5 separate regions of the Homo sapiens genome follow, and regions 2, 3, 4 and 5 are each linked to region 1. Evidence: promoter capture Hi-C in 16 types of primary human blood cells and fetal thymus (Javierre and others, 2016). All regions are on one chromosome and are shown on one strand. The core of a region is centred on a gene start or on the middle of the fragment in contact, and the rest is flanking DNA. Distances in the headings are between cores, read along the strand shown. Region 1 holds the start of NDNF (neuron derived neurotrophic factor). Region 2 overlaps MAD2L1-DT (MAD2L1 divergent transcript). Region 3 overlaps MAD2L1-DT (MAD2L1 divergent transcript). Region 4 overlaps MAD2L1-DT (MAD2L1 divergent transcript). Region 5 has its middle 130 kb from the start of MAD2L1-DT.

Region 1 (2,620 bases), core at 61-2,560:
CGTAAGCTTTGTTAATGAATGACCCAGGGATCTGCTCTAGATCGTATCTCCTAAGTGGAGATACAATGAGGACTTTTCTCACCTCATTGTCTCATCTGCAAAAAATATGCTTGCACAGTGATCTGAAATGTCCTTTTCAGTGTTTAAAAATTTTACAAAACTATTTTATGTCGTGTAAACGGTTTTATAAATCCATTTCCTGCAGTGTTTTCATCTAGGAACCACAAAACTTTAGGAGCTGCATTGGTCCACCCTCTGTGACCAACTGTTTAGCAAAAAAGATCATAGTTCTTAATATGACCGGGATAAGGCTGATTTTCATCCTACCTACCTTAATTTCATTGTGGCAATAACAGAACTAGTGTTTTCAATACTGACACTATATCTTAATAAATAATTATATATTATTAGAACTTATATAAAACCAGGTTTGCTGGAAATCAGGTTCTCAGTTGCAAAAATGAGATCACCAAATCATTCGGTACTTTTTTTTTCTTGGTTTTCCTAAGCCCAGGCCAGGTTGCTAATTAGGTAACTTTTTATCATAATTACCTAGTCAGCCTTAATGGCTTCACACACTCTGCTCCGTTTCACTGGTCCTGTAGGGCCGCTTTTTCAATTGTTAAAACAGCTGCTGAGTTTCAAATCGGAGGAGGCTCGGTCTGCGCCGAGGGGGAAGCGCTCCCTGAGTGAAGGCTGTGATAGGCAGGCGTTCGGGTGAAAAGTGGGACATGAATGCACAGTTTGCACACTCTGCTTTCCGCCTCCAACCACCAACCTTCTGGATTTAACACGTCCCCCTCCCTGCCCCCAGATCAACCCCAGAGTTTCCCTCTATTGTGCACCCCGGTCTGCTTGACAGTGTGATGGTCCCGCGTGCGCGTCTCCTGGGTTTTGCAGCTTTGTCGGGGGCTCGGTGGGCCTCCTTCATTCTCCCCGAGTGGCGCTAAGGTTAGGACAGCAGCGTGTCCCTCGCGATGCCGCCCGCGAGGGTCCTGTTTGGGGAGCGCTGGGTCGCTGAGCAGGGTGGTGTGTGTGTGAGAGAAAGAGAGGGAGGGAGGGCTACAGGGAGAGAGAAAAGGAGGGAGAGGGTGTCTGTGTGTGAGTGTGTGTATGTGTATGAGTGTGTGTGTGTGTGTGTGTGTGTGCGTGCGCGCTGGCGCGCAGCGGGAGGGAGAGAAGGAGGGACGGAGGGGGAGGCAACGGGCAGAGGAGGGAGGGGGCGGGCGGGCAGCGGTGAGGCGGGAGGGGTTAGGGCTGGGAGGGGAAGAGACTCCGGGCTTCAGCAGTGACACTCGGGAGCGAACACACACTCCCCACTTCCAGCCGCGAGAGAGTGGAGCTAACTGAGCAGCGCACCCGCCACGGCCGCTGCCGCCCCGTGCGCCCGGCTCTCCCAGCACCCCGCGCGGCGCTCCAGCCAGGCGCCTGTGCGACTAGCGGCGGCCGGCGAAGCCCGCGCCAGCCCCGCGGGTCGCTGCGGCATCCTCCCGCCGCCCAGCCCCCGCACGCTCCCTGCAGTTTAAAAGGACCTCCCGCCGCTTCTCGGCGCTGCCCCGGGATTCCCCAGCCCCGCGCGGCTCCCTACTCCACTTCGCAGCAACTTCGGCGACCGCGCGCCGCCCGCCCTCGCCCGCCTTTGAAGTTTGCTGTGCCGACCGCAAAGTTGGGACACTTCAGCGGATTGAATTTTTCTCTTTTATCTGCCTCCGTCCCCGCCCTCCAGGCTTCTCGTTCCTGGATATTGGTGCTTAGCATCTTGGCAGGGTCCGGGGACGTGGACTATTTCGCACACCACACCACGGGGAGGGATTTTTTTCTATTTTCCCTACGAAAAACAGATCTTTTTAAGGTAAGTGGGGAGAGGAAAGCAATGCCCCAGAGACCCGACGCCTTAGCCCGCCACCCTGAGACCTAGCACAAGGAGCGTTCACGCCCGAAGGGTCATCCGAGATGGGGGCTCGAGGCACGCGCCCCCAAATCTTCAAGGCCCAAGAAGCTTCTCAAGGGCGCCCTATCCGTAGGAGCTGAGGGCATGAGGGGCAGGAGCAGGTTTCCCTCGTTTTTTTTTTTTTATTGTTGTTGTTGTTTGTTTGTTTGTTTGTTTTTAATTTAGCTGCTTTCGAAGCTGGGCGGCCCGGAGAGATGTGAGGAGGTGGACAGACAGCGCAAGGGCGGGGAAGACCTGGGACCCGGGAGCTCGGGGTGCAGTGGGGTCTGGGGAGCCGCGGAGCCTTTATCCCGGACTTAGCCTGGACACTTACTTTGCCCGCCTGCCAAGAGGGCTGTTGCCTCCCTTTCCAGGTTCATGCCCTCCGCCCGCCGCTAGGGAAAGTCTGCGGGACTGGGGTTTTGCAGAGGGCGTCTGCGTGTAGGGCGAAAAGCTAGAGGTCCAGGCAGCGCACGAGTTCTTGGTGGGCGTCTGGGAGCTGCGCAGCCGGGGCCGGGAGTTCGGTTGGCCCGACCCCCAACCGCTCTGGCTCCTCATTTGTCCTCTGCGTGGTAGGCGAGCATCGTTATAGAAACTTCCTTGGGCTGAGCGAGGTGGCCTGGGACCGGCTCATACTTTCTTCCGGAGAGCAGAGCGGCCACCGAGGTGACGCCCCCTACGGCCCCAGCC
Region 2 (2,620 bases), core at 70-2,569, 980 kb after region 1:
TCTCATGTTAAAATATGATCAGGAATACAAAGAAGCAGGGAAATATAATCTATAATGAGGAAAAAATAAATCAATCAAAATTGACACAGAAATGACACAGATAATAGAATTGGTAGTCAAAGATATTAAACCTAAAATACATAAAACATAATATGGTTCTTATAACTGTATTCCATTTGTTGAAGCAGTTAAGAAAAGATTGAACATGTTAAGTAAAGATATAGAGGCCAGGCGAGGTGGCTCACACCTGTAATCCCAGCACTTCTGGAGGCCGAGGTGGGCAGATCATGAGGTCAAGAGTTCAAGACCAGCCTGGCCAACATAGTGAAACCCCATCTCTACTAAAAATACAAAAAAAAAAAAAAAATTAGCAGGGTAGTGGTGGCAGGTGCCTGTAATCCCACCTACTCAGGAGGCTGAGACAGGAGAATCACTTGAACCTGGGAGGCGGAGGTTGCAGTGAGCAGAGATTGCACCATTGCACTCCAGCCTGGGTAACAGCACAAGACTCCATCTCAAAAAAAATTAAATTAAATTAAATTAAATAAATAAATAAGTCTACGTCTGGAATACTCCGACTCTAGAAATCAACTTTATCTTTAATAAAAGTGCTATATTAAAATATTATTTTCTTCTGTTGAAATCCTGCATCTGTCTCTGGATTGGTTCAAGGATTAAGATGGGGAAAAAAGGGATAGATCCTCACTAAACTCCAAAATCTTGGTAGATATACAAGGAGTCTTGAGTAATAAATAAGAAATGGACCAGGTGGGTAGGTTTTGGGGGACAAAATCGCATAGGAAATTACAGTATTTTAATGCAGGGCTGAGGGCTTTAGGTGATAACCTATGTGGGCTTTCAACCCTGAGTGAGGCACAGAATCTGGCAGATAATTTAAGACTTTGGGTTGCTTTGGTTGACCTTGCGGGTGTGGCTGAGACAGAGTGGGTGTTTTCAGGCATTGCTGGGTGGAATATTTGCAGCTTTCATTGTGTCTCTGAGCCAAGACTTCAGGTTTGTGCTACAAAATCCAAAGGCAGCACTGTGGCAAGGCCTTAAGATGTGGCTATTAACTGGTCCTTGTACACTCCTGGGATGTAATGTTACCTGCTCTGTCTGGGACACTAAGGTATATAGTTGCTGTTTTGAGGGGAAGCCCTACACAGTTGCAGAATGAGTTTGGGGAGGGGGACCTTTATAGACGAGAAAACTGTGTCTTTTCACATGGTCCACTCAAGTCAAAGAGATTTTCAGTAGCAGATACCAATGTATCCCAGAGGAGTTGTGTTGTCCACACATTAAAAAAAATGATAAACAAGGTGAGTAAAACAGAGGAAGTTATGAAGTGTTTTTGATGATGGTTGTGACTACCTAAAGCATCTGAAAGAACCATCTGGGCCCTCAGTGCTTATTCCCCTTATTCCCAAAAACACATCAGTACATGCAGGAAAAGAGATGAGAAAGAAGGAATTTTGTAATTCCAGGCCCTGAAATTAATTTGCCTTAATCAATGTTTACATCAGAGTTTGAGAAAGATATTAGATAGTTAATGGATTATGGATGAGAAAAAAAAAGTGAAAGCAAGGAATAATGACTGATTTTCAAAGCCCATTTTCAGATGAAGATTATTTGTCTGCCTGGGAAAATCTCACAAAGTCATAGAAAGCCACTTTTTTAAGGAAGAGGAAATGTGTTGTCATTTCATAGAATATAACTTCCTGAGTCCTAAAAAGAAAAGAGTAGCTGACCCTATAAAAAGAGAAGTTTGAGAACTTTTATGAACAATATGATGATTTTAAGATTGTAGCTCTGGATGATGACAAATTGGAGGGTTTCATTCACATAGACAGAGTGGACCTGAGTTACTTGAGCAATCGTTTACACAAAGTTTTGAATGACTGATACAAAGAGAAGGCAGCAAATTGTGTAAAGCTGAATACTCTTTAAGCCTCTGAGGATAAAATTGTCTGCCAGTAAATGAGATTGATGAGTTGGGGGAGGTAGAGATAATTCCTATAGTTCTAAAAGAAGCAAAAGCAAATTGATGAAGAATCCATTTGCCGTGCATGCTCACATTTATATAACCATCTTTAGTTTATCCAGCATCAACGAAAGCCCAACAAATCCAAAAATGAGAAACAGGAATATCTCTCAATGGCTTACCAAAGAAAGAACTCAACGCAAATCAAATTGAATATGTGCAGATGATTAATGGCAGGGATCTGCAAAGGGTATCAACCCACATTCTAAAAATGAAAGCAAAGAAAATAAAAGAGAAAGAAAGCAAGCTGTAAAAGAGCACAAGAGAATGGAGAAGAAAGCTAACAAATGAACCTTCAAACTAGAGAAAAGAAGGCAGGAAAATGAACTACTGAACCTGAAGAAGAATGTTGAGGGTCTAAAGTTATCACAATGGGACATTTAGAAAAAGGCACATTCCCCATTAGGAACTCCTCATTATATTCAATTATGAACCAGAATATTTTTACTGCCATTTTTTACTAATGGGTATTGAAAAAGAAAGTACGGTATTTAAATTAATTCTTTACCAAGTTTTTCCTGCTAACCCTCTTGTACATATTTTCATATTTTTATTTTAATTTCTGTATTAATGTTATTT
Region 3 (2,620 bases), core at 63-2,562, 940 kb after region 1:
TATTATAAGAAGGTGTACTAGTGGTAGGAAACAACCACATCTGTGAAAGGCTCAAAATAGTGACTCCAATCCCAGAAAATATATTTTCCTACAAGAAACAAGAAAGTGTTTTCACGAAAAATAAATTGTAATAGAAATTAAAGTTTCTGGATAATGTAAACTTTTTTGTTTTTTTTAATTAAGCATGTCATATAATGTAAATGCTTTATGTTGATTGAAATAAATGCCAAAGGTAATCATAATTATTTTCTTTTTCTAAGATCCAAAAAATAATTTAACCTTTATACCAGATGAATCAAAGTTATGTAAGACTTTTAGAAATGTTTTTATGTCATTTCCTGTTGATCTCATGATCAAATTACCACCACACAAATTTTTCATATCTATAATTCTAAAAAGCCAGATTTCCAAGAAAATCCTGAAATTCCCAGAAAATAATACTTGAAACTCTAAGTATTTCCCTTCAAATGACAACAGATAAGTGATAACTTTTTTGGCATTAGCACCTTCAGCATTTAACCTCTGATAAGCCTGAACACAGACAAATATTACAGAGATCTTCATTCAACACATAGCAGTAAAAATTTCACTAAATCCTGCCTTGGGATATGAATGTCTTTTTACTGAGCCATTGAAATCTGTATATATTTTCTTTGAGAAATAGATTTTTGTGACCATGGAAATGTTTTCTTCTATGAATCACTGAAAAACATGATATATGTTCCTCCAAATTAATGAATTATCCATAATTATATAACAACTTTAGGTCATTTATAGTATTTAAAATGTCTGCCTATTACACTGATAGTGTCACATCCCTGAATAAAACAAGGTCTTATTTTTCTTTTTGTCATTTCTTTTCTTTGCAGACCCCAAATATTTTATTTATTTCTCATTGACTACCCACTGTATTACTGTATCCCACATTAATTTCGTCCCATCGTTTTCCGGATGTATCTACTGAGTAGAAAGTCCAGAAATTTTGAAGGAAGCAAAGAAAAAATAGCAGCAGTTTGTAAAGATTCTAGATCGATTTCATCAGTGACATTCTGTCAAATGGAATTCTTATACCTCTCACTATAACTCAGTAAGGACTGGCTCCTGGAGACATGAACAGTTTTAGATACTCTGACATTTAATGTCAACCAATGTATTGAGGACAGCCATTGTAACCATAAAATTGTATTTTTACCCTTAGAAACAATGTTTCATCATTATAGGCTGTCACTATTATTCGCTAGTACAATTAAGGTATTTTTCTTTCTGAGTCTTTGTATGACCTAAAATCACATAATCATGACTTATACTAAACAGGACTGAACTGTCTTAAGTAGATATTTATGTCTGGTTTATAAGTCTGCGTGTCTATGAAACAGGAAGATACTTTTAACTGTTAAAATCTCCCTGCAACATGACTTAAATGTTCTCATATATTTCCTCTATTACTAGCTTTATTATTTGCTAATTGTTAATTCATCTATAAGTGTTGCTTTAAATTAACATAAAATTTTCTATATACACACATGTAGATAGGCCCACCTGTAATAAATTATAAACCCACCTTTTAATATGGTGTGTTTATTCCTGCTTTTTTCTGGATAAATTTAATCCTTCCTCATTCTAAATCGATGTTTTCCAATTTTGATCTATGACTCAGTCCACTTCAAATAAATCTGAGAAATAAAACATATCTATACTCCTTTTGAAAAACTAATGTACATTGTATATGGAAGGCCCTGATGACTCTCCAATAAAAGAAATTTTTTAAAAAATGTGGAATCCTTAACTTCCCACTGAACACTTTCATAGTATAACATGATATCCAGGAAAGTAACAATGCTTGGAGCACTTTTGAGGGCATGGGCTTGATACAAGAGTGGAAGATCATATATAATTTCTGTCACAGAGGAGGCATATCTATTTCTTCTAGAAAATAAATTGAATCACTAATCATCATTTCGCTATGTTCTAAAATTCCTGAAAATGTAACAGAGAGAGTCAGTCTGGTTACATTACATTGATTATATCATTTCGTTGAATCTAGAAACTACACAAATAATTATGATCAGGCCTAGAAATTGCTAAATATATATTTTATTTTATTGACAGACATGTATATATTCTTCTGTCACAGACCATATGCATTTAGAGATATATTTTGTTCATATATATTCTCTTCATAACCCAAAAAACTAGAATAACACTATTAAATCTTCTTATTATGAATGAAGACAGACATTGTGCTTTCCAAAGCAGCTACGGCCTCAGAAATATTCAACTTACACAGTAATTGGCACCTAAAAGCATTCATATATCAACCAAAATAATGAGGCAGTATGGGTTAAGGGTCTGAGTTCTAGATTCAGATCCTAGCTCTACCACCTTAATAGCTGTGTGATCTTGAAAAAAATTACCAATTTCTCTGAGTTTCATTAGGGAAATAACAACAGAACTTTTTTGTCATGGAGCAGTTTTCAGTAATAAATAAGATAATAAATGTGCAGCATGCAGCACAATAGTTGACATTATGAGCACCTGATAAGTCTTATATATTAATATTATCTAAATGGTCTGTTTCCACCTACAGAACACTCAGGGAAAATAAATTATTTTTCCTCCC
Region 4 (2,620 bases), core at 58-2,557, 910 kb after region 1:
GCACAATACATTTCTCAGAATATATCACTGTTGTTAAGCAATGTATGACTGTATAAGAAATGAAGTGGCTGTTGGAGGAGTGCTAGAATAGCTATCTATTGCTGCGTAAGCTACTACCCCAAAACTTTGTGGCATAAAGTAACAATATTATCTCATAGACTTTCTGTAAACTTGGAATTCAAGAACAATTTATCTTGGTGGCTCTGGCTTAGAATCTCTCATGTGGTTACTGTCAGATGTCAACCAGGATTGTCATCTAAAGGAATGACTAAAACTACAAGATCACTTGCAAGCTTGCTCACACAGCTGGCCTGCAAGTTGGTGGAGCCATGATGGAAAGGCCTTAGTTGCTGTCCACATGGACATCTCTGTAGGGCTGCTTGACTATTCTCATGATATGGTGGCTCGTTTCTACCAGAGTGAGTGACCTAAGAGGAAGCAAGGCAGAAGAGGCAAAGTTTTTTTTTTTTTTTTTTTTTTTTACCATGTAGCCTCAGAAGTCACACATGGCCAGTTCTGTCACATTCTATTCACAAGAAAGGATTATTAAAGTTGGTACACCTTCAAGAAGAGGAATGTTAGGCTCTATTTTTTCTTTTCTTTTTTTCTTTTTTTTTTTTTTTTTGGAGACAGAGTCTTTCTCTGTCTCCCAGGCTGGAGTGCAGTGGTACGATCTCAGCTTACTGCAACCTCTGCCTCCCAGGTTCAAGCAATTCTCCTGCCTCAGCCTCCCGAGTAGCTTGGATTACAGGCCCGTGCCACCACGCCCAGCTAATTTTTGTATTTTTAGTAGAGACGGGGTTTCGTCATGTTGGCCAAACTTGTCTTGAACTCCTGACCTCAGGTGATCCATTCGCCTTGGCTTCCCAAAGTGTTGGGATTACAGGCGTGAACCACCGCACCCGGCCCAGCTCTACTTTTTCAAGAGGATTGTGTCAAATAATTTTTGAACACATTTAAAAACTACCACATGAAAATCTTTTATAGTACCTAGTTTCAGACTTACCAAGATTTGTAATAAGTATAATAACCAATAGAAACACCAAATGAACAACTTAACTCTTGGAGTAGAATTGAGGTAAAATTATCATTTTTGGAATTACCTACATCGAGGTATTGGATGAAGACCTAAAGGCACTGAAAAACATGAAAACGGGGAATTTAGAAAGAGAAGAACACAATTGTATGTACTATTTGAGAGTGGTTAGAAGAGAAGAGAGATACCAGAAAAGAAAATAAGAAAACAGAGAAGGGACAGTAATAGCAAATTTTATGTAAAAAATCAAGGACAGTGAAGCCACCAATGTTCTCTGCAGGGGCAATAACAGTTCTTTGTCAATAGTACCAAATAAAGATGGGATCTAGAGATCAGAATAGCTTCTTTTGTCAGATGGACTCTTACTTGTCTTCTTCCTTAGAAGCTGAGAATTAGGAAGACAGGTAATTGGAGGAGAATCAGGAAACTATTCAGAGCTCTGATCAAAACAATTAAAATATGACTAACCCAGCGTCACCTATATTAAAGACAATTTTATACCCTGTAAGTCATTCTTGAGGTAGCCATAAAAAGATATTCAAGCAGACATATGTCTGTATTGCATAGAAAAAGAAAATTAATGACAAAATCTAAAAGCAAATCAGTATGTGAGTTAAAACAAAGCAGGGTTAAAATGGGCATTTAAGAACACAATACCTTGTAGTTGCATGGAAAAATATGTCACTATATCACAAGTAAAACTGTGAAGAAGAAATACTGCTAATGCTGACATTTGCAGTTACAGCACTCTCACAAAGATGTTTGCAAATGTGCAGTAGTAGAAAAGGGCAGTAATATCAAAACATGGCCTTCTTTTTATCTTGTGTCTTCAGAGGGTTGCAATTAACAAAATCAACTACATTCTAAAAAATAAAGGAAAACGTTAACTTTTAAAATTCTCCTCAGGAAGACCAAAGCATTGCTAGACAAAAAATAAGAATGAAATCATTTTTTCCAAATAACTCTTCAGCAAAATTATGAAAGGCTCTGTGTGACAAGAACTCTATTTCAAGGACAAGAACTGAAAGCCATCAAGGCAGCTTGGCCAGGTAGAAAATGACATCACCTTATAAAATCCCTTTGATATCCACAGGCTGGTTTTCAAATAATGATTACATGCTTAGGTTAGCTTCTCAATAGCTAAAAGAATCATTTATTGTATACTTTTTCTCCAGGAAAAAGGGTTCTAAGTATTTTGCTTAAGAGTTTTGTTTACTTTGGTTCTTTAAACTAAGGAACCATAGTGCAGATCCCAACCCCATGAAACATACTAAGACAAGCTTCACCATTCCTAAGAAGCTGCCTTGCCACAAAGTGGCCATGTGGTGTCTGTCCGTCTGGGTTCTGTGCAGGTTCAATCGCTTCATTTAAAACATAATAAAACTATGGAGAATTGAACTTGGTGACCCTGTTTCACAGTTTTCCAAAGCACAAAAAAAGAATTGAATCGAGGGCATTGAAAAGTGAGTCCAAACTTTTATGGGTTTTCTTTCCCCCAGACCTCAGACAACAGCATTGTCATGAAGCAGCAGTATTCCTAAAGGGGAGTCTGGGTATTGATATGCAAATGTGGACTACAAACAT
Region 5 (2,620 bases), core at 86-2,585, 880 kb after region 1:
AGAAAGAGAGTCAGAAAGAGCCACACTTATTCCTCTTCTTCCCTCTGTTTTGTTGTAGCTGTGCTGGCAGCCTTTGGAAGGTGCTCTGAGGGTGGGTCTTTGTCTCCCAGTCCACAGACTCAAATGTCAGTCTCCTCTGGCAACAGCCTCACAGACACACCCAGTTCTTTACCAGCCACCTATGCATCCCTCAACCCAATCAAGTTGACACCTCATATTAACCATCACAGATGGTCATATGTTTACTATGTGAAATGAGTATACAAAATAGATCCAAGAAAAAAAAATTGTCTTTGATTAGGAAAGCTTTGGAAAGGGCTCTTCTTTTCTTGGTCTTTGTTTATTATTTATCATTTTATAAGAAATAAATGGATGAGTAAAATTGAAATGTAAACTTATTCAAGGAAGTCTCTGTTTTTAGGTATTTGCCTGGGTTTTGTTAATGAATATTTTGAACTAACAGAGACATTTTTGTGGTGATTATTTCCAGAATTTCCCCTGAATTACAAACAACCTTGCTTAGACCTTGACTTGAAGACATCTATGTGTAACTTGCCTTCAATATATGAGGTTCATACTTTGCCTATTTCATTAGTACATGATAATGCTATTCTTTTGTGAGACAGAAATCTTGAGTTCATTACAAGATACATGCTTAATAAATTAATAATAAGATCACTTGGGAATTATACTCAATGCTGAAGTCTTATATTTTAATAATGTAAATCATGTACTTGGCATGCTTTCATATAATCAGGTCTTAATCAGGCATGAAAAGAATAAATACCTAATTTGAAGGCTGATTTTTGAGCCACAGATGTATTTGTGTAATGCTCACAGCCTGATTTGAACACCTACCTATGAAATGACAGAGAATCATTGAAGTAGATTTCTTTGTTTCACCTTGAAGCTTTTCAGAATGTATAACTTTGACAATCATAAGAGAAAAAGAAACTGAGTTTGATTTGTGACTTTTATGTTATAGTTAAATAGCAACATGGTTCTTGAGTTCACTGGGGACTTGTAGGCCACTCTATCACTTTCCCATGCTGTCTGACATCTTAAAGGAAAGACAAAGAGTAGATGAAAGAAAGTACATGAACCGAGAACTCCAAGGAGAGTACCAAACGATGTTGACTTTCAAGGAAGGTGAAATATTATTTCTATGTAGATTTTTCTGATAAAATTCTGCCTTTCTAGTAACTCAGCACTTGATCGAGTAATCTGTCATTGTGCCCCCACAGTGATATTTTACCCAAATGCAGTGTATCATAAGAAAAACTAATTAATTTTGACTTCTCTGCATCTGTCCCCAGAAGACTCAGGTCTCTTGTTTGCATGGAATAATTAAAGAAAAATAAAATTTCCCCAAAGAGAAGAACTTTTGGTTCTGTTACTGTAAAACATAGAAATAAAATAATTTGTTACCTTGGAAAGAAATGAACTGCAAACTCTTTCCATCTGTTTATTTAGGAGGGAAGGCAGGTTACTTCATGCTCACTGCCATACATGATTAGCTTTTTTGCTCTGGCTTCTGCAGTATGGAGGATTATTCATCTATCAACAGCTTCACACACCAGGCCTGGCTATGCCTATCCTTACTACAGGATGGGCAAGTCATGTATGATGCCCAGAGTTGTAGGCAATAATGTTATCTAACCAGGCAAATTTGTTACATGTTAGCTGCAGCTCAGAGGGAGACATGAAAATTTAAACCTCCTAGGCAAGAGGCAATCACTGAATCTCCAGCCCAAAGCTTGACATGTCATCCCCAATCAATCAGTTGTAAGGGATCACAGAATATTTTCTAGGCTTTTATTCTGGAAGAGGTTAGAGACTGAGTATTACTTGAAGAAACCAGAGCTTATCACAAATTCCATCAACATCACTTTTGCAAGTAGGATAACAAATGAGTAAACTTTGTCATGGGTGGCCAAAGTCTCGTTAATTGGACAGAGGACTTACAGGTTGGGTAAAAGATAAATAATTATTCAAATTAGAAGCAGTTTCATAAAATTAACATTGACTTTGTAAAAAATACCTTTGAAAAGCTCTAATCCACTTTCACCAAGTCTCATGAATTGCAGGACTTTCTGGAATTGTTAATTTAAGATAATTGCAGCACTTTGGGAGGCCGAGGCAGGTGGATCACAAGGTCAGGAGATCGAGACCATCCTGGCTAACACAGTGAAACCCTGTCTCTACTAAAACTACAAAAAATTAGCCGGGCGTGGTGGCACATGCCTGTAATCCCAGATACTCAGGAGGCTGAGGCAGGAGAATCATTTGAACCTGGGATACAGAGGTTTCAATGAGCCAAGATCAAGCCACTGCACTCCAGCCTGGGCAACAGAGCAAGATTCTGTCTCAAAAAAAGATAATAGGAAAGGTTTATGAAACTAATGTCTTTGATTTACTTTTTATGCTATAAATAAAATGTATACAAAACAAACTTATCACTCACATTCAGAATGATTGGCAAGAGTGAATACAGAAGGATTAAAAATAAAATTACCCTGCACGTTTCAAAAGAATAAAAAGAATTTTTAAAACATGTTAAGCATTCTTATTGAGACTGGCAATGACTTGGGATAATCAGTTTTGACTTGAAAACAGATAG

Evidence for each region. Contacts are between HindIII fragments. The CHiCAGO score rates a contact against its expected background, and 5 or more counts as called.
Region 2: a contact is called between a fragment that was not itself captured here and the fragment with the promoter of NDNF in region 1, in 4 of 17 cell types (endothelial precursors, megakaryocytes, total CD8 T cells and 1 more). The highest score is 8.6, in endothelial precursors.
Region 3: a fragment that was not itself captured here is called in contact with the fragment with the promoter of NDNF in region 1 in 7 of 17 cell types (M1 macrophages, endothelial precursors, M0 macrophages and 4 more); the score reaches 8.4 in M1 macrophages.
Region 4: a contact is called between a fragment that was not itself captured here and the fragment with the promoter of NDNF in region 1, in 11 of 17 cell types (erythroblasts, activated CD4 T cells, monocytes and 8 more). The highest score is 8.5, in erythroblasts.
Region 5: a fragment that was not itself captured here is called in contact with the fragment with the promoter of NDNF in region 1 in 1 of 17 cell types (endothelial precursors); the score reaches 5.5 in endothelial precursors.

What each region holds. Positions count from the first base shown.
Region 1 is chr4:121,071,225-121,073,844 of GRCh38, reverse strand. It overlaps NDNF (neuron derived neurotrophic factor), which reads left to right and starts at 1,310. Exons shown (of 4, transcript NM_024574.4): 1 at 1,310-1,852. NDNF-AS1 (NDNF antisense RNA 1) reads right to left here and starts at 2,483. Exons shown (of 3, transcript NR_187407.1): 1 at 2,265-2,483; 2 at 1-95. The HindIII fragment of the contact is 1,993 bases long and covers 9-2,001 here.
Region 2 is chr4:120,090,836-120,093,455 of GRCh38, reverse strand. All of the region lies in intron 2 of MAD2L1-DT (MAD2L1 divergent transcript), which reads right to left. It also overlaps the pseudogene LTV1P1. Among named protein-coding and RNA genes, the nearest start is that of MAD2L1-DT, 25 kb to the right of the region's middle. The HindIII fragment of the contact is 2,749 bases long and covers 1-2,620 here.
Region 3 is chr4:120,133,755-120,136,374 of GRCh38, reverse strand. All of the region lies in intron 2 of MAD2L1-DT (MAD2L1 divergent transcript), which reads right to left. Among named protein-coding and RNA genes, the nearest start is that of MAD2L1-DT, 68 kb to the right of the region's middle. The HindIII fragment of the contact is 2,947 bases long and covers 1-2,620 here.
Region 4 is chr4:120,158,989-120,161,608 of GRCh38, reverse strand. The region is part of intron 3 of MAD2L1-DT (MAD2L1 divergent transcript); the gene reads right to left. Among named protein-coding and RNA genes, the nearest start is that of MAD2L1-DT, 93 kb to the right of the region's middle. The HindIII fragment of the contact is 2,023 bases long and covers 296-2,318 here.
Region 5 is chr4:120,193,475-120,196,094 of GRCh38, reverse strand. No RefSeq gene overlaps it. Among named protein-coding and RNA genes, the nearest start is that of MAD2L1-DT, 130 kb to the right of the region's middle. The HindIII fragment of the contact is 846 bases long and covers 913-1,758 here.